Linked DNA regions of Homo sapiens: region 1 is linked to region 2. The links are contacts of gene promoters, found by promoter capture Hi-C in blood cells and fetal thymus (Javierre and others, 2016). All regions are on one chromosome and are shown on one strand. The core of a region is centred on a gene start or on the middle of the fragment in contact, and the rest is flanking DNA. Distances in the headings are between cores, read along the strand shown.

Region 1 (3,794 bases), core at 1,137-3,636, about 120 Mb after region 2:
TTTCTCTTTTTGTTTTTTTGAGACGGTGTCTCACTTTGTCCCCCAGACTAGAGTGCAGTGGCGCAATCTCAGCTCACTTCAACCTCCGCCTCCCAGGTTCCAGCAATTCTCCCGCCTCAGCCTCCCAAGTAGCTGGGATTACAGGCATGTACCACCACGCCCCAGCTAATTTTTGTATTTTTAGTAGAGACGGGGTTTTACCATCTTAGCCAGGCGGTCTCGAACTCCTGACCCCCAAGTGAGCCACCCGCCTCAGCCTCCCAAAGTGTTGGGATTACAGGCGTGAGCCACTGCACCCAGCCTGATGTTCTCCTAAGAGTGTACGGTGGGGCCGGGCGCGGTGGCGCACGCCTGCAATCCCAGCACTTTGGGAAAATCACCTGAGGCCAGGAGTTGGGGACCAGCCTGGCCAACATGGCAAAATCCCGTCTCTACAAAAAATACAAAAACTAGCCAGGTGTGATGGCATGCACCTATAATCCCAGCTACACAGGAGGCTGAGGCACGAGAACTGCTTGAACCCGGGAGGTGGAGGTTGCAGTGAGCAGAGATCACGCCACTGCACTCCAGCCTAGGCGACAGAGCAAGGCTCCATCTCAAATAAATAAATAAATAAAAGAAGGTAATCTGAGTCATGTTCTTATGAGATTCCTCTGGCCCCTGAGAAAGGCAGGGATACATGGAAATGTCCTGTTCTGATGTGAGAAACAACTTTCCCCAAATCTCTGGGTCTGAGAGACCTCAGCCCCTCTGCTCAGGTGGTCCAGTTCCAAGTGTCAGCCCAGTGTCTACGGCTGTCTTTGAGGTGCCATCCTGAATTGTCACTGCCATCATAACGGTTGTCACCTGTCCTGGGACACACCCCACCTCTGTAACCTTTCTTTACTTTTCAAAGCAACATATTTTCCCAAATTACCATCTCCAAAACTCTGATAGGAGGTAAGACGGCTACTACAGGTTAAATATCCCTTTCCAGAAATGCTAGGAACCAGACCTGTTTTAGCTTTAGGAACATCTGTATTCTATTCACTGGTTGAGCATCCCTAATCTAAAAATTTGAAATCTGGAATGCTCCAATGAGCATTTCCTTAAGTGTCATGTTGACACTCAAAAACTTTTGAATTTTGGAGTATTTTGGATTAAGGCTGCTCAACGTGTGCTACTGGTCCCATTCTGCAGATGTGAAAACGAAGGCACAGAGATGTTAGGGGATCTGCCTCAACTCCCAGCCTGTCTGTGGAACTTTTTTTTTTTTTTTTTTTTTTTTGAGATGGAGTCTCGCTCTCTCACCCAGGCTAGAGTACAGTGGTGCGATCTTGGCTCACTGCAACCTCCGTATCCTGGGTTCAAGCCATTCTCCTGCCTCAGCCTCCCAAGTAGCTGGGACTACAGGTGCCCACCACCACGCCTCCTCTGCTCTAAATGCTCCCATGGCTGCCCTCTCCCGTAGAGAAAAAGCCCCAGTCCTCGCCAAGACTGCAGTCCAGGCCCGACCTGCCCTGGCCCCCTGTTTTTTCTCTCATCTCCAGGCAGCCACTCAGGTCTCCTTCAGATCTTGACTCTAACAGAGTGATGTCTTCTCCAGCAACTCTATGGGATGCTGCAACCCACCCAATGGCCTCTTCTGTTTTATCTGCTCACTATAGCCGCATAAATTTCTATATGTTTATTCTTTGCCTGTCTCCTCCTATACAGCAGGTAAACTCAGGGATTTTCTAAAAATCTCCCTTTCTGCTATGTCTCCAGTGCCTAGAATAGTGCCTGGCATGTAATAAGGGCTACTCCTAAAAAGGGGTCTGAGAGAAATGTCAGCCAGCCTGGAGCTGAGCAGACAAGACTGGGCTGAAAATACACATTTGGGGGTCGCTGGAGATTATAAAGAGATTATAATCGAAGTCATGGGAAGGGATGGAACTACTCCTGTTTTTTTTGCCAAATTCTCCATGTTACTATTTGAGGGCGAGAGAAATCCCGGGTATTCCATATACACTGTTAAAACTAGGCTGTCACTAAGCCCCTCTCCTTTGGATCATCTGGAATGGGGGGACCCATTCCCCCATTCCAGATGATCCATCCCACCCCTCTGGGATCCCCACCCGAGAGTCCTGAAGGCAGGGCACAGGCCGCCCTGGGAAATCTCCGAAATCCAGCCCCGGTCCGGGGATGTCTTACCCTCCAGTTCCAGCTGCACGGGGGGCGGCTCGGGGGGGCCCTTCGAGGGTCCGGGGCCCGCCTGCTGGCGCCCCTTGATGTTGTAGCGCCGGCGCAGCTTCCCCATGGCGACTAGGCCAGGGTGGGCGCTCCAGCGGCCGGACCAGCAGAGCAATCCGAAACCCAGCCCACGTGGGTTCCCAGACCACCAACTCCGGCCGTGAGACTTCCGGGTTGTGTTATCGCGAGAACTGTAACTGACTTTGCCGCTGAGGGGCGGGGTTGCAAGAGAAACCCAGCGAAGAGGAGAGGCGGAGCCGGGCCGGGCAGGGGGCGGGACTATTTAGAGAAGTAGGCGGGGCCTGAGGTCCCAGCGGAGGCCGGAGTTTAAGTCCTGGGCTGTTCTCGCTTGGGGTAGTCTGGGTTTAAATATGAATTATATCTACTGATACTAATTTGGCTTCTTGGGAGTGGAAGTGTTTTGCCACCTTTTAAAATATACCCCGCCCCCAGTACTCCAAACTTCTTCCCCCCAACCCTGGTTTGCGCATCTGTATTTTCTGATATTCCTACAAGAAACGTATTAGTCGTGTACTTTTAAAAAGGCACCAAATATTTCCATCACAGGGATAGATGGAAGATCTAAAAGGAGGCCTCTACGGGCGCGGTGGCTCACGCCTGTAATCCCAGCACTTTTGGAGGCCGAGGCGGGCGGATCACGAGGTCAGGATTTCAAGACCAGCCTGGCCAAGATGGTGAAACCCCCGTCTCTACCAAAAATACAAAAAAAATTTAGCTAGGCCTGGTGGCAGGCGTCTGTAATCCCAGCTACTTGGGAGGCTGAGGCAGAGAATTGATTGAACCCGGGAGGTGGACGTTGCAGTGAGCCGAGACTGCACCACTGCACTTCAGCCTGGGCAACAGAGCTAGACTCTGTCTCAAAAAAAAAAAAATAAAGTTGTCTATTACATAACTTTAAATTCCCATTACCGCATCACATTGTAACACACTGGGAAACAATGCATTATTATTATTATTGAGACAAGGTCTGGCTTTGTTGCCCAGGCTGGAGTGTAGTGGAGCAATCTCGGCTCACTGCAACCTCTGCCTCCCGGGTTTAAACGATTCTCCTGCCTCAGCCTTCCGAGTAGCTGGGACTACAGGTGCCCGCCACCACCCCCAGCTAGTTTTTGTATTTTAGTAGAGACGGAGTTTCACCATGTTGGCCAGGCTGGTCTCAAACTCCTGACCTCGTGATCTGCCTGCCTGGGCCTCCCAAAGTGCTGGGATTACAGGCATGAGCCACCGCGCCCGACTTTTTTTTTTTTTTTTTTAAGAGATGAGATCTCGCCCTGTGGGCCAGGCCAGAGTGCAGTGGTGCAATCACCACTCGCTGCAGCCTTGACCTGTCCTCCCACCTCAGCCTCCTGAGTAGTTATGACTACAGGCACACACCACCACGACGGGCTAATTTTTCTATTTTTTTGTAGAGATGGTGTCTCCCTATGTTGCTTAGACTGGTCTCAAAATTCTGGGCTCAAGGGATCCGTTTGTCTCGGCCTCCCAAAGTGCCGGAATTACAGGCATAAGCCACTGTGAAGGCCTTAATGAATGACGTTTAAAAAAATCATAATTAGCGTATC
Region 2 (3,902 bases), core at 646-3,145:
GCACATGCTCATTCCACTAGGGTATTAGGCTATGTGTTAATGTAACGGCAGGCAATCTGAAGGGCTCCACTATGTACGTGCCGAACAGAATTAAAGGGGGGGTCCCACACTGTCCGCTTCCGATGAAGAAAAAGACGCAGAAAAGAAACCGCCACACGTGGAGAATCAGTAGGTGCAAGCCAAGGACAGTTTGCGGTAAACTGCCACCCCGGAAGCCAGCACCCACCATCCTGGTCTCCCGGAGTTTGGGTGACCCCTGGCACTGTTACTTCTGCATAAAAGTAGTGGATTTAACCCCTACAGAGGCAGCGCCCCGTATCCTCTGAAGCTGTCTCCAGCCACCTAAAGAGACGTCTTCATTATGGCTCAACTCATTTGGGCTGTAAATTGCTGAAGCGAAGGGCTTTTTCTTCTGCATCCCTTTCAAGTTCCGTCGGCAGGGACTACAATAAATCATCACATTATGACGCTGAAAGTTCATCTCTAAAAAGCTTTCAATTTAGTTTGATGAGACTAATGGCGTCCAATCGCACAGTGCCGGGCACATAACGGGAAGTCCAAAAATACAGTTATTATTGGAATAAAAATTCAGGCTGGGCGCAGTGGCTCACGCCTGTAATCCGAGAACTTTGGGAGGCCGAGGCGGGCGGATCATTTGAGACCAGATGTTCGAGACCAGCCTGGGCAACATGGCGAAACCCCGTCTCTACTAAAAATACAAAAATTAGTCGGCGTGGTGGCGGACGCCTGTAGTCCCGGCTACAGAGAGCCAAGATCGCACCACCGCACTGCAGCCTGGGCGACAGAGCAAGACCCTGTCTCAAAAAAAAAAAAAAAAGAAAAAAAAATCAGCCAAGACTTGGAAAAAGAAATTTAAAAAAGGAAAATTCATGCAGCCAGTAACTATTGGGACATCACTCACCAGGCACTATGCTAAACTGGGGTTAGGTGCTGAGCAAAACCAGGCCCCTCTCTAGATGGCTCTCTAGGTCCCACGACCATAGCTTAGGTGACACCGGCACCTGCGCGCTCCACAGCCTGTCGAAAAACACTCGGGAAGCAAACATTGAGAAGAAAATACTCCTTCTGTGGGCCTTTAGGAAAACCGAGTGACTTTTTTCGTGAGGGGAACCCATCTTTGTAAGCATTCGCGGAAACGGCAGTTTTATTACCGCCGGGAAGGGTCCCCTGAGTGTGTGCCCCATCTGAGTTCCGAGCTGGGCGGGCCATGCCTTGCCAACCCCGCTGCTCGCAGCATCTGCAGGCGCTGAGCGAGGCATCGCTGCCTGGCCGGGGCTTCTCGGATCTGGGGAAATCGAGGTCGCTTTCCCCGGCTCTCTGCAGCGGGGCAGCGCTGTCCACTCACTCCCCGCTCCCCGCGCACGCCCTTGCCCTCTTTCCCCCAAGTAGGGAAGGGTCTACGCGGGTCATAGCAGAGAGGCCACGCCGCCCGTGGTGACGGCCGGTCCCGGGGAGGGGGCGCCGCCACTGCCATCCCGCAGCCTGCGCTCCCCACACCCCGCCGCAGGCGCAGCGGACTGGTGGAGTGATGTCGGGAGATCGATCGAGAAGAATCTGGAAGAATCCGGTTAGACAGGGAAGCGGGCGGGGATGGGAGGGAGGGAGGAAGGGCCAAGGGAGGCCGCCGGGGAGATCCCGAGTCCGAGGGTCCCAGGAGAAGGGGGAGGGGGCAGGCAGCCAGAAGGAGGCAAGAACCAAAAAAAAAAAAAGAAAAAAAAATTCCGAAGCGCCCGCAGCACTGAGCCCGAACCGGCTCAGTCCCGCCGTCTCTAGAAAGTTCTGCACCCCGCCCCCTCTGTCTGCGCTCCCGCTCCTCCCAGCCCCTCCCTCGCGGCGGGGCGGGACCAATCGCTCCCCGAGCCGCTCCTGACCCACCTACCCCAGCTCTCGCGCCGCGTGCAGAGGTGCTCAAGCCTCCTCGCGGTCCGCAGTCAGTGCCGCCGCGCCCGGCCTCCCGCACGCCCCGCAGGTAGCGCCCCCGCCCGCGGCCCAGAGTGCGCTCGCGCCGGCACCAGCTCCCGGATAAACGGCGCGCCGCGCGGAGATGACAGCCGAGGAGATGAAGGCGACCGAGAGCGGGGCGCAGTCGGCGCCGCTGCCCATGGAGGGAGTGGACATCAGCCCCAAACAGGACGAAGGCGTGCTGAAGGTGAGGGGCGGCGGGGCCTGCGGAGGCGTCGGAACCCGGGGCCCCGCGGGCCGCCCTTCCGCCGCGCCCGGAGCCCGCGGCCGGGCACGGGTCGAGGCGGCCGCCTTTGCAGCCTCGCGGCCGTCCCGCCGGGGGCCGGTGGCATCGCCGTCCCGGACCGGGCTGCGTCGTTTAAGGCACCGAGGCCGGCCATGCGCTCGGCAGGGGGGCGGCCTAGGTGCGCGGGCCGAGGCCCCAGGCTCCCCAGCCGGCAGCGCCCGGGCCCGGGCAGGGGGTCGGGATTGCAGTGCCCACCCCGGCGCGCGCGGGGCGGCGGAGAGGGGCGGGGCGAGGCGACCGCCGCGGGCACCCGAGCCGCAGCCCGGGGCCAGGCCGGGCCTCCCACGCCACGCCGCCCCCGACCTCGCGGCCCCAGCGGAGCTGCCAGCCGCGGGCCGCCTCGTTGGTGGCGGTGCCAGGGCTCGCCCACCCGGGCGGTGGAACACGGGCCAGGACGGGGAGCGACTCCCCACAGTGCTTTCCTGGCCCTTCGGCCTTTGTGCGACGCAGGCGCGACAGGGTTCCGGCGCCCTCCCGGGGTCCCCTGCCGACGCCGGGACCCAGCGAGGTCCCCACTCGCCGCGCGGCGCCCCCTCCCTCGGCCCCGGGGAGGCCGGGCGCGGGGCATGCCGGGAGCTGTAGTCCCCTCCCCCCTCCGCCGCCTCCCGGAGCCAGGGCTGCGGGGTGTGGGGCGGGGAGGAGGCGCTCTGCTGTGGAGCCTGCCGCCGAGTGACCGCTCGACTACAAATAGCCTGGGGAGCTGCGGGGAGGGCATCTTGACCTGGGCCAGGACAACCTGCCTTGGGTCGGAGCAGGTTCCAGGGAGAATCAGAGATGGTGAATTCCCAGCCTGCGTCTTATGCCTTCTCCCCATCCGCTGCTGCGTCCTCATCCTGGCTTCCCACCGCTGAGCTCCGCGTGTGCGGCACCCACCTCAGGGGGCCTTTACCTGGTCCAGAAGTGCATCTGTCTTTGCACCAGATTATTGGGGACCTCAAGCGTCTGCTCCAGCGGCTCTCCTGTGGCATGTGACTTCCCCTTCTCGCTCCAGCGTCCTGCCGTTTTCTACGAGATTGTTATTCCAGGAAAGCTCATTTCCCCTTTGATCCATCATTCCTTCCCTTTTACCTTTCTACTCCTCAAAGCCCCTGTCTATTCTTCGTGGAAGCTTTCCCTTGGAGGGTAACCACACACCTACCAGGTGGCGCTAAAGAAGCCTTTACGTTTCTGGGAAATACTCCAGCCCTGGACTAACTACCAGAGGAATACTCAGCTCCCAAGTCAGAGTTTAAGGTCCCATGGAGAGCCTCCGGGTTCACCTATAACCTGGTTTCTTCCTTACCTGTTTTGAACTGTTTCTATTCTCTTCACTCATACTCCTCTCGCTCTCCTGTCTCCAAACCAGACCTTAGTCTGACGACCACTGGCATGAAGGAAGAAGGAGGAAGTGTGGCATAAATACTTCCCCCTTTGCCGATTATAATAATAATCTATTATTCAACCTTTTACTGGTCTAATCTTCCAACAACTGTAGGAGATAGGGATTATCATCACTGCTTTACAAATAAAGTGTGGAGAATTTTAAAAACTTACCATACAGCGGAAACTTGAACTCAGATCTCTCAGCCTTTTGTCTCCTTTTTCAAACCAAGTCTTGCTGCACCTCAAGAAAGACAAGAAGGTTAGTTGACTC

What was found. The method cuts DNA at HindIII sites, captures the fragments that hold promoters and counts their contacts. A CHiCAGO score of 5 or more calls a contact.
Region 1: a contact is called between the fragment with the promoter of DHX37 here and the fragment with the promoter of FKBP4 in region 2, in 1 of 17 cell types (total CD4 T cells). The highest score is 8.1, in total CD4 T cells.

What each region holds. Positions count from the first base shown.
Region 1 is chr12:124,986,745-124,990,538 of GRCh38, forward strand. DHX37 (DEAH-box helicase 37) reads right to left here and starts at 2,387. Exons shown (of 27, transcript NM_032656.4): 1 at 2,173-2,387. The coding sequence starts at 2,278. RefSeq lists an enhancer at 307-850 and a silencer at 2,091-2,300. The HindIII fragment of the contact is 16,586 bases long and covers 1-3,794 here.
Region 2 is chr12:2,793,075-2,796,976 of GRCh38, forward strand. FKBP4 (FKBP prolyl isomerase 4) reads left to right here and starts at 1,896. Exons shown (of 10, transcript NM_002014.4): 1 at 1,896-2,170. The coding sequence starts at 2,066. ITFG2-AS1 (ITFG2 antisense RNA 1) reads right to left here. Exons shown (of 4, transcript NR_146317.1): 2 at 3,803-3,872. RefSeq lists enhancers at 775-1,320, 1,321-1,865, 3,359-3,902 and silencers at 1,715-2,094, 2,125-2,184, 2,535-2,944. The HindIII fragment of the contact is 2,886 bases long and covers 490-3,375 here.